3 separate regions of the Homo sapiens genome follow, and all the other regions are linked to region 3. The links are contacts of gene promoters, found by promoter capture Hi-C in human tissues and cell types (Jung and others, 2019). All regions are on one chromosome and are shown on one strand. Each heading gives the region's core, a stretch centred on a gene start or on the middle of the fragment in contact. The rest is flanking DNA. Distances are from core to core; before and after follow the strand shown. Region 1 has its middle 8.5 kb from the start of MSMP. Region 2 has its middle 5.8 kb from the start of TESK1. Region 3 holds the start of TPM2 (tropomyosin 2).

The links. The method cuts DNA at HindIII sites, captures the fragments that hold promoters and counts their contacts. A contact is called where the count stands out against the background at its distance.
Region 1: a fragment that was not itself captured here is called in contact with the fragment with the promoter of TPM2 in region 3 in 6 of the 25 tissues and cell types used here (dorsolateral prefrontal cortex, heart left ventricle, heart right ventricle and 3 more).
Region 2: a fragment that was not itself captured here is called in contact with the fragment with the promoter of TPM2 in region 3 in 3 of the 25 tissues and cell types used here (dorsolateral prefrontal cortex, lymphoblastoid cells and spleen).

The regions. Positions count from the first base shown.
Region 1 is chr9:35,760,324-35,765,214 of GRCh38, reverse strand. It overlaps a transcript of RGP1 not described here. Among named protein-coding and RNA genes, the nearest start is that of MSMP, 8.5 kb to the right of the region's middle. The HindIII fragment of the contact is 6,133 bases long and covers 1-4,891 here.
Region 2 is chr9:35,597,036-35,601,895 of GRCh38, reverse strand. No RefSeq gene overlaps it. Among named protein-coding and RNA genes, the nearest start is that of TESK1, 5.8 kb to the left of the region's middle. RefSeq lists silencers at 1,901-2,020, 2,590-2,884 and an enhancer at 2,210-2,850. The HindIII fragment of the contact is 9,787 bases long and covers 1-4,860 here.
Region 3 is chr9:35,688,339-35,692,563 of GRCh38, reverse strand. It overlaps TPM2 (tropomyosin 2), which reads left to right and starts at 2,639. Exons shown (of 9, transcript NM_003289.4): 1 at 2,639-2,860; 2 at 3,293-3,418. The coding sequence starts at 2,747. RefSeq lists a silencer at 1,222-1,301 and an enhancer at 4,197-4,225. The HindIII fragment of the contact is 5,966 bases long and covers 1-4,225 here.

The DNA.
Region 1 (4,891 bases), core at 748-3,247, 73 kb before region 3:
ATCATCAGATGAATGAATAAACAAACTGCTGTATGTCCATACAATGAATTATTGCTCAGCAATAAAAATGGACTTCTTTTTTTTTTTTTTTTGAGACAGAGTCTTGCTTTGTTGTCAGGCTGGAGTGCAGTGGCGCCATCTTGGCTCATTGCAATCTGTCTCCTGAGTTCAAGAGATCCTCCTGCCTCAGCCTCCTGAGTAGCTGGGACTACTGGTGTGCACCACCACGCCTGGCTAGTTTTTGTATTTTTAGTCAAGACAGGATTTCACCATGTTGGCCAGGCTGGCCTCAAACTCCTGACCTCCCATGATCTGCCCACCTCGGCATCCCAAAGTGCTGGGATTATAGGAGTGAGCCATCGTGCCTGGCCAAACTATTAATATACATAAAAACATGAATAAATATCAAAAACAGTGTGCTGAGTTAAAGAAGCCAAATGCAGAATACATACTCTGTGACTCCATTTACATGAAACTCTACAAAACAAATCTACAGTGATAGAAACCAGATCAGTGTGGATTGCAATGAGTGAGGAGTAAATGCAAAGGGTAATAAGGAAATTTGGGGGCAGTGGTGGGGTGGTGACAGAGATGTTCTACATCTTGACTGGGAAGATGATTACACAGGTATATACATCTGCTAAAACTCACTGAATTGTACATTTTAAATGGGTACATCTTCCTGTATATAAATTATATTTCAATAAAGTTGAAAAAAGTATTTTGAAACAGTTATTTAAAAGTATTTTTTGTTATCAATAGTAGCTGGCCAACAAATCATTATAGAGATTAAGCAGCCCATTAGTAATATAAGGTTATCCTTGCTCCATTAGCCTTCTGAAACATACCGGAAGAATGAGTTCTCTGTCCAGTGGAAATGGAGGTTAATTTGTTATCCAATCCACAGGAGTTAAAGAGTGTGAATATGCACACTTCTCATCATTAGCTTAAGTCGAATTTTTAAAAATCAGACCAAGTGCTAAGAATTGAAATTAACTTTTTCCCAAAAGGATAATGCTTCAAAAGATCTCCATTGTGGGAAAACAAAACACTTCACTTCTTTTTTCTTCTTCTTCTTTTTATTTTATTTTATTTTCAAGACAGGGTCTCACTCTGTCTCCCAGGCTGAGTGTGGTGGCATGATCATGGCTCACTACAGCCTCAACCTCCTAGCCTCAAGCCGTCCTCCCACCTCAGCCTCCTGAGTAAAAAAAGGAAGTCCCTCTTCCTCCCCTCCTCTCTCTCCTTTCTCAATCTCTCTTATCAGAGTTAATGTCTGTCATCAGTCTGATGAGTTTTTTCTTTTCTCTTTTCTTTTTTTTTTTTTTTTTTTGAGATGGAGTCTCACTCTGTTGCCCAAACTGGAGTGCAGTGGCAAGATCTTGACTCACTGCAATCTCCATCTCCCAGGTTCAAGCGATTCTCCTGCCTCAGCCTCCCAAGCAGCTAGGATAACAGGCATACACCACCACACTCGGCTAATTTTTGTATTTTTAGTAGAGACAGGGTTTCGCCATGTTGGCCAGGCTGGTCTCGAACTCCTGACCTCAGGTGATCTGCCTGCCTTGGCCTCTCAAAGTGCTGGGATTACAGGCGTGAGCCATCGCGCCCAGTCTGATGTGTTTTCTTCCAGGCAATTTCTATATATCTCATTCTTGTTTTAAAAAATGCATGCATGTGAGATATAAATAGGATTGTATTATTCATATTATTATGTAACTTGCTTTTTATGGGCTGTGATTTTCTGTTTCTTTTGTATCTTCTTGTCATGCCTGATTAAAACTGTACACATGAAAATCTTGCCAAAGGTGAAGTCTAGGAATAGGGAGGGACTCCGTTAATCTCACTATTATATAGCCCATTAATTACTCATAATAGGATGGATTTAGGCTCTCATTCAGCTGAACAATGAGGATCCTAAAGAATGCTAACACAAGGTTAGCCTGAAAAGTTCTAAGAGATAGGGAGAAGGTTCTTAAACAGGGAAATCTCAGGACGAAAACAATGTTCCAAGAAGAATAAAATGGCAACAGTATATATAATATAGAACAGAATTAGACAGCAAGGAGACTAGTTAAGTGGCTAATACAGAATAGTAAATTAGAAGAAATGAGATTCTGGATTACAGTGGTGGCCAGTAGAATGGAGAGAAGCTTTCATTGAATTCTAACAAGGCAGACTTGTAGAGTGGAAGAAACAAAAGATTTGAACTAGAAGAGCTAGATTTGAATCCCAGCTCTGAAATTTACTAGCTGTGTGACCTCTGGCAAGACACTTCTTCCGTATCTCAGCTTCCCTTTCAATAAAAGGAACACCTTGAAATATCAGAGCCTTTAACTTTTTTTTTTTAACAGCAGAACTGTTTTTTTTTTTCCGTTAAAAAGAAAATCTTCAAGGAAGCCAGTACGTTTAATTTGTAAAACAAATAAAAGCAAGATTGTTCTGGTTGAAGCATAGGTAAAAGGGCTCAGAGCCCCAGCTAGCCTTCATTTCACCCTTCTCAGCCACTTCTGAGGCATCCTTCAGAAATCTCCAGAGGGCTGAGGAACAAAGTTTGAGAAATCTCTAAAGACTTTACTATCAACTCTATTATCAATTACTTGAGGGGGTAAAATTGACAGAGGTGCCTAGAAAAATAATAATGAATTTAATAGTGCCACAGAATCATATGACAGAAAAAGGGCGAATTGACTTTTCCTAAATCTGCCTGCTTCTCCTTGCAGGTTGAACCCAATTTAATGTCTAAAACCTCATCCGACCCTTGTGCAAACGGTCATCTAACCTCTATATGAACAATATGGCCAAAATTTACTGCCTAACAATTCAGTTCATTCCACTTTGGGGTCCTCAAATGAGTCAAAATTTCCTTATCAAGCCAAAATTTGTCCTCCATCACTAAATAAAAGTTCTTAATCTATCTTCTGGAACTAAACCAGTAAATCTAATTGCTCCTTCATCATGACAGTCCTTCAATTGTCTGAGGAGAGCTATCATGTCTGCCTTATTTCCTTGTATTCTCCCTTGCTCTTGCTCTGGCATGACATGAATATACCATGGAGGCAGCCTGCTCCTGTTTTGGATCAAGTTGAATTTTTTTTTTCAACAGAATCTCACACTGATCTCGGCTCACTGCAACCTCTGCCTCAGGTTCAAGTGATTCTCCTGCCTCAGCTGGGATGACAGGCATGTGCCAACATGCCTGGATAATTTTTTGTATTTTTGGTAGAGATGGGGGGTTTTACCATGTTGACCAGGCTGGTCTCAAACTCCTGACCTCAAGTGATCTGCCTGCCTCGGCCTCCCAAAGTGCTGGGATTACAGGTGTGAGCCACCACACCCAGTCAGAGTCAGTATTTTAAAGCATCTAAGTGCAAGTAGGTTTTCATTTATTTGTGGCTTTAAGGAAACTTAATTTAATCAAGCCAGATGATCCTCCTTTAAAAAATGACTAGCTTTGATAACTAAGTGTAAATAGAACCCAAATTCATTATTTGGTTGTTTTTGTTTTTTTGGGGTTTTTTGTTTGTTTGTTTGTTTGTTTGAGACAGGGTCTTGCTCTGTCACCCAAGCTGAAGTGCAGTGGCACAATCATGGCTCACTGCAGCATCGACCTCCCAGGCTCAAGTGATTCTCTCACCTGAGCCTCCCAAGTAGCCGAGACTACGGGAGTGCACCACCACACCTGGCTAATTTCTGTATTCTTTTTTGTAGAGACAGGGTTTTGTCATGTTACCCAGGCAGGTCTTGAACTCCTGGACTCAAGCACTCCATCTGCCTCATGTTCCCAAAGTGCTGGGATTACAGGCATGAGCCATGCACCTGGCCCTAAAAATATTCTTTTCTTACTGAACATTAGCTGCTTCCAGTGTACTAGAAGTAGATTGCCAAACCTTTTGGCCCAAAGCAAATTGTAAAGACATTTAGCTAGGGATGCAAAAACATCTAAGACTCAAGGTCCAGTGAAGCAGGCATAAATAACATAATAAATAAAGAGAAGCATCCTGATTCCAAAACTTGCATCTAACAACCAACTCCCAGGGAAATGTAGTTCTCATGATTACAAATTCAATTATCACCAAAATGACATGAAATATCAATGCTAGAAGGAAAGCTTCATTCATCATTCCTTATCCTACCCACCCCATAAATCTACTACCAGGTCTGTGAAATCAGGATCTGTGGCTTGGGCCTCAGTCTCTGCCAGTCTGGGTAGTTTTGGGGATGGGGAAAAGGAAGTATGGCTGAGTCCCTAAGGAGAAAGCAAGCCAGCATAATCACAGTCCATGATGCTTGTGGGAGCACTGAGCCTGTACAGTTTCCTGTGCTCCAGTTGTCTTGGTAACCTGAGGCCTCCTTATTTGTGTTGGCATCATGGGGCCAAAAGCGGAAGCAAAGCTGGAACACCAGGAAGACTTGCAGGAGAAAAAAATGTAGATAATGCAGCAGTTATGCCACAGGAGGGTCAAGCCTAGGGCAGAATTACCTGGTTGGGGGTGGGAAGGTAGTGTCTTGTAAAAATCAGATCTCTGGGTTCTACCTTCAGCGTTTCTGATTCAGTAGGTCTAGGATAAGCTCAGGAACCTGCAATTTTAAGAAGCTACCACCTACCAAGTAAGTCAAAGACCACACTTTTAAAATTCCAGCTACAAATCAGCAGTTGGGAAGAGAAAGTATAACCATTTAATCAATTTCAAAAAGCTGATATTCTAGTACAGTAATTCTATACACTGGAGTAGAGGGTATATTTTGTCTTCCAGGAACATTTGGCAGGATTTGGAGACATTTTGGTTGTCACATCTGAGATAATATCATTGGCATCTACTGAGCAGATGCTAAGCATCCTACGATGCACAGGACAGCCCCCCACAACAAAGGATTATCCTCCAAAATG
Region 2 (4,860 bases), core at 1,053-3,552, 90 kb after region 3:
TGTCCTGTGTATTGTAGGATGCTTAGCAGCATCTCTGGCCTCTACCTAATGGATGCCAGTAGCACCTCCTCCTGACTGTAACAATAAAAAAATGTGTCTAGACATTGCCATTTGTCCTCTGGGGGACAAAATTGACCCTGAATAAGAACCACTGGTCTAGGTTCATTAATAGAGGAGTTAAAGCTGGGCATGGTGGCACGCGACTATAGTCCCAACTACATGGGAAGTTGAGCCGAGAGGGTTGCTTGAGCCCAGGAGTTCGAGTCCAGCCTGGGCATCATAGCAAGACCCTGTCTCAAAATAAATAAAAAGTTAGAAAATAATATTATCATTCCTTCTTTGAATGAATTCCTATAGAAGTATTAGGTAGAATAATTCTATAAGGAGAAACTTTTCCACATTAACTATTTGTTACACAGAGATACATTTCCTAGGAAAGGCAGAATAAATACTTGATTGTTTCTCACTTATTTTACCAGCTTTCAAAGTAATGAGTTGGTTCCCCAGCATCTTCCAAAGTTGACCGATGAGGTTTTTTTTAAAGTACCATTATGAACTCATAATTTAACACATATGTGATATACTCAATTATTGCTAGTTATCTTTTTTTTCTTTTTGAGACGGGTCTCACTCTTTTTCAGGCTGGAGTGCAGTGGCACAAAGCTCACTGCAACCTTGACCTCCCGGGCTCAAGTGATTCTCTCATCTCAGCCTCCCAAGTAACTGGGACTACAAGCACGTGCCATCACACCTGGCTAATTTTTAATTTTTTTGTAGAGACAGGGTCTCACCATGTTTTGCCCAGGCTGGTCTCAAACTCCTGGCCTCAAGTGATCCTCCTGCCTTGGCCTCCCAAAGTGCTGGGATTACAGACATGAGCCACTGCACCCAGCCCAGTTATTGATTGATTGATTGATTGAGATGGAGTCTTGCTCTGTCACCCAGGCTAGAGTGCAGTGGTGTGATCTCGGCTCACTGCAAACTCCGCTTCCCAGGTTCAAGCGATTCCCCTGTCTCAGCCTCCTGAGTAGCTGGGATTACAGACACCTGTCACCACGCCCGGCTGATTTTTGTATTTTTAGTAGAGACAGAGTTTCACCATGTTGGCCAGGCTGGTCTCAAACTCCTGACCTCAGGTGATCCTCCTGCCTTGGCCTCCCAAAGTGCTGGGATTACAGGCGTGAGCCACTGCGCCCAGTTATCATTTTTGGTGCTTGTCCTATTGTTACGGGATCTTTGGGGCGTCCTTTTTCTGGCCAGAAACCTCTGTGGCTGGTGGTGCTTTTGCCCCAGTTTTGCTCAGGCCCTCTGGGCTTGTTTCGCCTACCCAGCCTGGCAGCCTGTGCTTGGCTCACGCTACCAGCCTGGGTCCCATGCCTGCCAAGGGTGAGACAGGCGTGGAACAGTTAGGGGTATGTGAGTGAGCATTGGGTCCAGCCACTGTGCACAGTCAGACATTCCGGGTGCTGCAGTGGGGCGGGCAGTTCCAGGTGCCAGCATGGCACCATTTCCCTGCAAGCCTGCGGCCGGACCAGGCACATGGCAAGCAGCTTCCACAGCTGGCACTGGGGGACACATTGGTGCCTGGAAGCTTGGAGATGCCAGGAACAGCAGGTCCTCAAAGAGGAAGTCACAGCCCTGGCTTGGGGAGCTCCCAGGGCTAGGCTCCCCGAAGGGCTGCAGTTCTTCTTTCCTTGCCTTCACCCACAACGTGGCAAGCAAGGGTCATGTCTCACCCCCGTTTGTTACAGCTCTTTTAGCCTCACCATTTGGTGGGTCCTGAGTTCTTGTCCTGCGACAGGAAGAATGAGGTACGCAGACAAGTGAAGAGTGAGCAAGACAAAGAGTAGCTTTATTGAGCAATAGAACAGCTCAAAAGAAACCTGCAGGGGGCAGCTCCTTTCCCTAGCAGGGGTGTCCTGAGGCATGTTCAGCTCCTAGCAGAGAGGGTAGCTCCTCTCTGCTAGGCAAGTCGTCCTGACAAGTGTTCAGCTATCAGCAGGGAGGGTAGCGTCTCTCTGCAGCTGGTTGTCCTGTCATCTGTGCAGCTCTCAGCAGAGGGGAGGCCCTAGAGTGGGTGGCTTCTCTCTGCAGGTATGTCATCCTGTAGTCTCTGCAGCTCTCAGCAGAGAGGAGGCCCCAAAGTTGGTTGCTCCTCTCTGCAGCTGGTTGTCCCAACATCTGCGGCTCTCACAGAGAGGAGGCCTTGGTGTGGGTAGCTCCTCTCTGCAGCTGATTGTCCTGACGTCTGCTCAGAGCCTGGGCTTTTATGGGCCTTAGAGGGGAGGAAGTGCATGCCAGTTGGTCCTGGGCAGCCATGGGTGGGCCTGGAAGTGTCACCACAAGTTCCCACTCCCATAGTGTGATGGGCAGCCCGGTCCCCAGCCTTCAGGCCCTCCCTGGCCTGAAAGTGGGGCCTTACCAGGGACCTGCCCCATCCGCTCAGAAGCCTGTCTGCCTCCTGCTGCCATTCATGGTGCCCAGGCTGTAGGTGCCAAGAGGCGCCTGCAGGCCAGTGCTGAGCTGCCTTCAGACCCCACTTGGCTTCCCTCCTATGCTCATTGGCACCCAAAATCTGTAGGGGACCAAAGCAGCAGGGGACTGGTGTGTCAGCACTGCTCCGAGTATGTGCACACTCGGCCAGGCTGTGACAGTGCCCAGGCTCTGCTCGGACTTTGTTCTGAGATTGGAGTGGGCACCAACAGCAGGAAGAAGCCAGGCAGTTGGAGCAGGAATTTCTGAGCCTGTGAGGCCTTCTGGGGCCCCAAGAGGGCAGGGATTCCTGAGTCTGCAGCCACTCTTTGAGTGGCTGCACCTACACCTGGCAGGGGCGGGGCTCCTGCCTGCTCTGCTGAGCAGGAGGCCTGAGTCTGCAGCTGTGGTTTGGGTGGCTGCAGCTGCGCCTGGAAAGGTAGGGCTCCTGTCTGCTCCCGGTCCTGAAAGCACAGGGATGCCTGGGTCCACAGCCGTGGCTTGGGCGGCTGCAGCAGCACCCAGGGAGCTCCCACCCCAACTTGGAAGGGACAAGGATCCCGCTTGTCCCCAGCTCCTGTTGGCTCCATGGAATGTGCAGCCCTGGCCATGCCTCCCTGCTGCAGCTGGCATGATGGCAGCAGCCACTGCAGACAGCCTGCTGCTGCCATCACTATTTTGTTCCCACTGGCCAAAACTGTCCTATTTTGGCCAGTGGGAACTTATTCAAGTTAGTTCCTGAGTCCTTCTGACATAAATTTCCAGTTTTCTTGCTATCCAATATGATAAAATGTTCTGGACTCATTTTGTGCATATCTAGACCAGAGCTGGTATCAGCTACTTTTTTTCCCCAGTGATTCATGGTCTTTTTTAGTGGGAAATGGTGTTTGGATACCACAACCTGGGTATTAGAGGAATATAAAGTTATTGACCTTAAAAGCAGTTAAATGAATGTGGTTGATTACTCATTATTCTCAAAATAGTATCCCCATGTTGGGCATGGGGGCTCATGCCTGTAATCCCAGCACTTTGGGAGGCTGAGGCAGGAGGATCACTTGAGCCCAGGAGTTTGAGACAAAGCTGAGCAATGAAGTGAGGCCCCCTGTCTACAAAACATCAAAAAATTAGCCAGGAGTGGTGGTGCATGCCTGTGGTCCCAGCTACATGGGAGGCTGGGGTAGGAGGAATCCTTGAGCCCAAGAGGTTGAAGCTGCAGTAAGCCATAATGCTGCCACTGCACTCCAGCCCAGGCGACAGAGCAAGACCCTGTCTCAAACCCTCAAAAACAGTCACCCTAATCTCTTTATTATGAAAAAATTCAAACATGCAGAAAAGTTGAAGGAATGCATAATGAACACCTGTACATCATTCATGTAAATCCAACAATTGTTAACATTTTGTCCTATTAGTTCTCTCTAATATAGAATAGGTATAACATATAATAGTAATAATACAATATAATTTTTTTTTTTTTTGAGACAGAGTCTTGCTCCGTTGCCCAGGCTGGAATGCAGTGGCATGATCTTGGCTTACCACAACCTCTGCCTCCTGGGTTCAAGTGATTCTCCTGCCTCAGCCTCCTGAGTAGCTGGGACTACAGGCGCTTGCCACCATGCCCGACTAGTTTTTGTATATTTACTAGAGATGGAGTTTCACTATGTTGGCCAGGCTGGTCTCAAACTCCTGACCTCGTGATCTGCCCGTCTCAGCCTCCCAAAGTGTTGGGATTACAGGTGTGAGTCACCGCACCCGGCCTATAATATAAATCTTATTGTAGCATTTGAAAATATGTCGAGGCCAGGTGCGGTGGCCCATGCCTGTAATCCCAGTTACTCCGGAGGCTGAGGCAGGGAATTGCTTGAGCCCGGGAGGCAGAGGTTGCAGTGAGCCGAGATTGTGCCACTGCACTCCAGCCTGGGCAATAGAGCAAGACTCCGTCTCAAAAAAAAAAAAAAAAAGTATGTTGAAGGTGTCATCCTCATTTCAAAATCATTAGCAGTGTCTCCTAAGGTCATTTTCTATGAAAACATAATACCGTATCTTGAATCACTTTCTTCATTTGGTTTCTTGATTCTCCTCATATTTCACTGGCTCCTTCTCCCAGGTCTCTTTTGCTGGTTCTTCTTCAGCTTCCTGACCTCTAAACAGTGGAATACACAGGGCTCTGTCATTGGATCTCTTCTCTTCTCCCTCTACATACACATTGTGGGTCATTTCATTAACTCTAAGGCCTTAAATGCTATCTACTTGCTGATGACTTCCGTTTTCTCTCCCTTGCCCAAACCTTTCCTCTGAACTCTAGATTCCTATGTTCAGTTGCTTACTCATCATTTTCTTTTTTTCTTTTCTTTTTTTTTGAGATGGAGTCTTGCTGTGTTGCCCAGGCTG
Region 3 (4,225 bases), core at 1,390-3,889:
ATTTTTGTTATTTTTAACGAATTGATACATATTTAAAATTTTTCTCAAGTTTCATTTTAATATGGCAACTATTGGTAGATATAACCCACTTCAACAAAAAAGCTGTTTGGGGGTCTTCAATACTTTTTAAGAGTGTAATGGGTTCTAAGACCAAAAGACCCACACCGTATTAGTATATTTGATAAGTACCCAGAAACTGGTACATAAAAAACTCATCTGGCAAATGTTCATGAAGTGCCAACTCTATGCCTGGTGCTGTGATAGGCCTTGGGGATTCAGAATTGAGAACAGTCGTTTCTGTTGAGGACTCACAGACCGGCGGAGGCGCCAAACCGGTATAAGAACAGTTATACCATGGGACTAGGATGAGGGTGAGAGCCCGCACCAAGAACACGCACCTATTAGGTGAGGCGGTGGGAAGAGAAGTGGCCAGGGAAGGCTTCCCAGAAAAGCTGACACTTACTGAGTCTTAAAGGCCACCAGGAATCAGCCAAGGGGATGGGCATTTTAGGGAGAGAGAACAGAATGCATAAACTGTGGAAGCTTTAAGAAAAGTATGGCTATTTCCAGCTCCTGCACGTAGCTCATTATGAATGCAGCATGAGGTACAAGTATGAATACTGGGGGTGAGGTTGGGCATGGAAGGAGATGAGGCCAGAGAGGCAGGCAACAGCCAAAACAACGGGCCTTCTATACCATATTAAGAAATGTGGATTTTTTTTTTCTCCTCAAAACAGGCAGGGTGCCCGCACGCCTGTAATCCCAGCTACTCAGGAGGCTGAGTCGGGAGGATCACTTAAGCCCATAAGTTCAAGACCAGCCTGGGCAATCTAGCAAGCTCCCGTCTCAAAAAAGGTGGGGGGACAGGGATTAGGGAGGGGTTTTGGAGAATTTTAGATAATATTCGCATTAACTTTTAAAAAGATATTTGACAACAATGTCATGGGACAGTCAAATGAATGAATGAGTTGAGGAACTAGAAGTAAGACTACAAAACAGACTGAAGAAAACATAAGGCGCGGCCAGAGGCCAGCCCAGACCGACCCGAGGAGGAACCTCCTTGGTAGAAGGCAGCCTCTCCAGGATTAGGTGGTTGTGAGACGCGAAGGGCAGGGGATACCCAGTGGTCTAGCATAGGCTACTGGTGGATGAGGCGTCTTCCACGGAGTTAGAGGAACACTGCGAGGTCAGGCCAGGGTTGCTCTCCGTGTGGCTAGCAGGCAGCTAAACAGATCTGAATGCATTTCCACGCCACCTCCCCACCGCCCCGGCCAGCGGCCTCGGGTTCCCACGGTCCCCAGCCCACTGCAAAATCCAGGCCTCCCGCCCCTCTATGACTGGAGGGTGGGGGCGAGGCTAGCAGCTCCCTCCCGGCTTCCTCCGCTTGTTCTCTCCTCCCCTTCCCCCTCCTCCCGGCGGCTCTCCACTTCCTTTCCCCCCACCCCACCCCAGGGAAAAACGAAAACAAACACCCTCGCGCCTCGCGCCTCCGACTCCCAGACCCCACGACCCGGCTCCGGCGCTGGTTTGGCGGCCTGGGTGGGAGAAGGCACCTCGCCCCGGACCCCCTATGCCCCGCAGCTCAGTGACTCTTCCCCTCGCCCTCCGCCTTCCCCGCCGCAGCCCGGCTCCGCCTCCCAATGGGGAAACATCCCAAAAAAGGGCAGAAAAGAAATTTCAGCATAAAGTTGGCCCACTGGGAAAGAGAGGAGCGTCCGCGGGGAGCGGGGGAGAAGAGGGAAGGCGCGCGGAGGGGAGTGGGGCCAGGCGGAGCCAGGGGCGGGGAGCGGAGGGGCTCGGGACGCGTCCGGGTGGGAGCGGGGGCGGGGAACGCGCGGTGACCAGCCTGGCCGCAGCCGCGTGGAAAATATGCGGGGCACGTGGGGGGCGGGGCGGGGAGCTGGGTCCTGAGCCGCCGGGTGCTCGCAGGAAGGGCCTGGCTCCAGGGGCAGGGGCTGGGAGGGGAGGCGAGGGGATGAGAGGTCAGGCCGGTCCTGGGGGCAGCAAGCCCGGCCACACTCCCCACCGCGACCGGGGCTCTGGGCTCGCTTCCTGCTTCAGTTTCCCCAAGCTCCCGATGAGACTCCGCTACTACCACCACGTCGATAACGCAAACCTAGAGGGACTCAGGGTAAACTGAGGCACTCAAACTGCCGAGGAGCTCCGCCTCCCGAGAGACATTTAATCCGGGGGGATTTGCAGGAAACTTCTAAATTAAGGGTAGCGGCTGCTGCAGCTGAGGGGGGGCACGCCGGTCCCTGCGCCCGGGCAGCTGCCGTGAGCTCACGCCCCGAAATAGCCCCAGGGGCCCCAGCCGCAGCTGCCACTGGGTCCGGCTGTCACTCAGAGGAAGCACGGAGCCCCCAGCCCAAGGGTCCCCTCCCCTTCGCATCGCCGGGGTTTTTCCAGCCGACCGTCGGCCACTTTTTCCTCCGACGGCTGGCAGGGAAGAGGGGGATGGGGGCGGGACCCCAAGGGAGGCGGTCCCCAGTGGGTGGGCGAAGGGGGCGGCCGCACCCCCCGGCCGGGCCGTGCTTCTGCCCCTACAAGGTTTGGGCCGAGGTGGGGGAGGGTCCTGGTTGCCGGCCCCGCCCGGTCCCTCCCCGCCTTTTAGGCGCCCGCGTGGCCGGGACGTCCCAGTCCCGCTCCGTCCTCCTCGCCTGCCACCGGTGCACCCAGTCCGCTCACCCAGCCCAGTCCGTCCGGTCCTCACCGCCTGCCGGCCGGCCCACCCCCCACCGCAGCCATGGACGCCATCAAGAAGAAGATGCAGATGCTGAAGCTGGACAAGGAGAACGCCATCGACCGCGCCGAGCAGGCCGAAGCCGACAAGAAGCAAGCTGAGGACCGCTGCAAGCAGGTTAGGGCCGGGCCCAGTGCAGCCTGCTCTCCCCGCGCCTAGGGCAAGGGTGGGCCGCTGCCATGGGTCCCCCAGCCCCGGGCCTGCCCGCCAAGGCTCTCTCTCACCCAGGGTGGGGGCTGGGCCTTCGCAGTACCCTCAGGGCCTTCGCCAGAGCCGCTTCTCTCCCCTACAATAGCCTGGGGAAGCCCCAGGCCCCTGGTTTCCACTCTGCCTTTGCAGAGCGCGGTTGGTCCTGCTCCTTGGGGCCTGAAGTTTTCTCTGTACCCTCAACGGGTCCCACCAGTACCCTTGACTGTACTGTCCCTTTTATGTTATTCCGCTTCCATCCCAGTAGCCTCCAAATCTTAGTAGCGCCCCTACACACACCGCGTCTCCATTCTGGGCCTGGGCCCCCTCCCAGCCTGGCTGACCAAGTCCCCTCTGTCCCAGCTGGAGGAGGAGCAGCAGGCCCTCCAGAAGAAGCTGAAGGGGACAGAGGATGAGGTGGAAAAGTATTCTGAATCCGTGAAGGAGGCCCAGGAGAAACTGGAGCAGGCCGAGAAGAAGGCCACTGATGTGAGTGTGGACTTGGGGGACAATGGGAGGAGTTAGGGCTCTGGGAAGGGGCCCCCCGGGTATGGGAATAAGAGGATTGGGGCACCTTATCCCCTTATGTCCCCAGCGCCAGGAGAGAAATGGTTTCATCTCAGTAACCAGGGCTAGGGTAAACTTACACAAGTAATCCAAGACAGTGGATAAATCAAAACCACCTACCACTTCCCCCAGAGGACTTAGCCCTGTAATTCTGTTTGGTTCCAGCTTTTAGAATGTACAGTGATCAAGCAATGAGTCATTGTGGGGGTGGAAGGTATAAGAATTTACCATCTACCTCAATTAATCCTCCAGCTGAAATTGGAGAGGAGACTGCAGCCGTTTGGGGATGGGGGGATGTGGATGTGAGGTACTAGCCTGCAGGAGGAGGGAGAGGGATCCAGAGATGAGACCCCACTTGAGTTACAACCCTAAGGGGCCATTAGAAATTCCCTGGCCTTGACCTCTGGCTTCAGCAGCCCTGCTGTGCCCTGGGGCCCCAGCTCAGGTTCTAATGGCTCCTCATTTACCCTCATTAAGCTGTCAGCCTGGAGACCATGCCAGGCCACAGGGCAGAGGGACAGGGCCACAAATGCCAAAGCAGCTACCTTGGCAGGTCATTTACCCTGAGATTTCTCTGCCCACCCCACAACCCCAACCAGACTTCACTTCCTGCCATTCCCAACCCCCAGCTTAAGGTAGGAGAATGGCCATATGGCTTTGGTGTGGTGGTAGTTTCCCCATTCTCTGCCTCAGTTTCCCCATCTTCCTTCCACCCAGGATTGTTTTAAG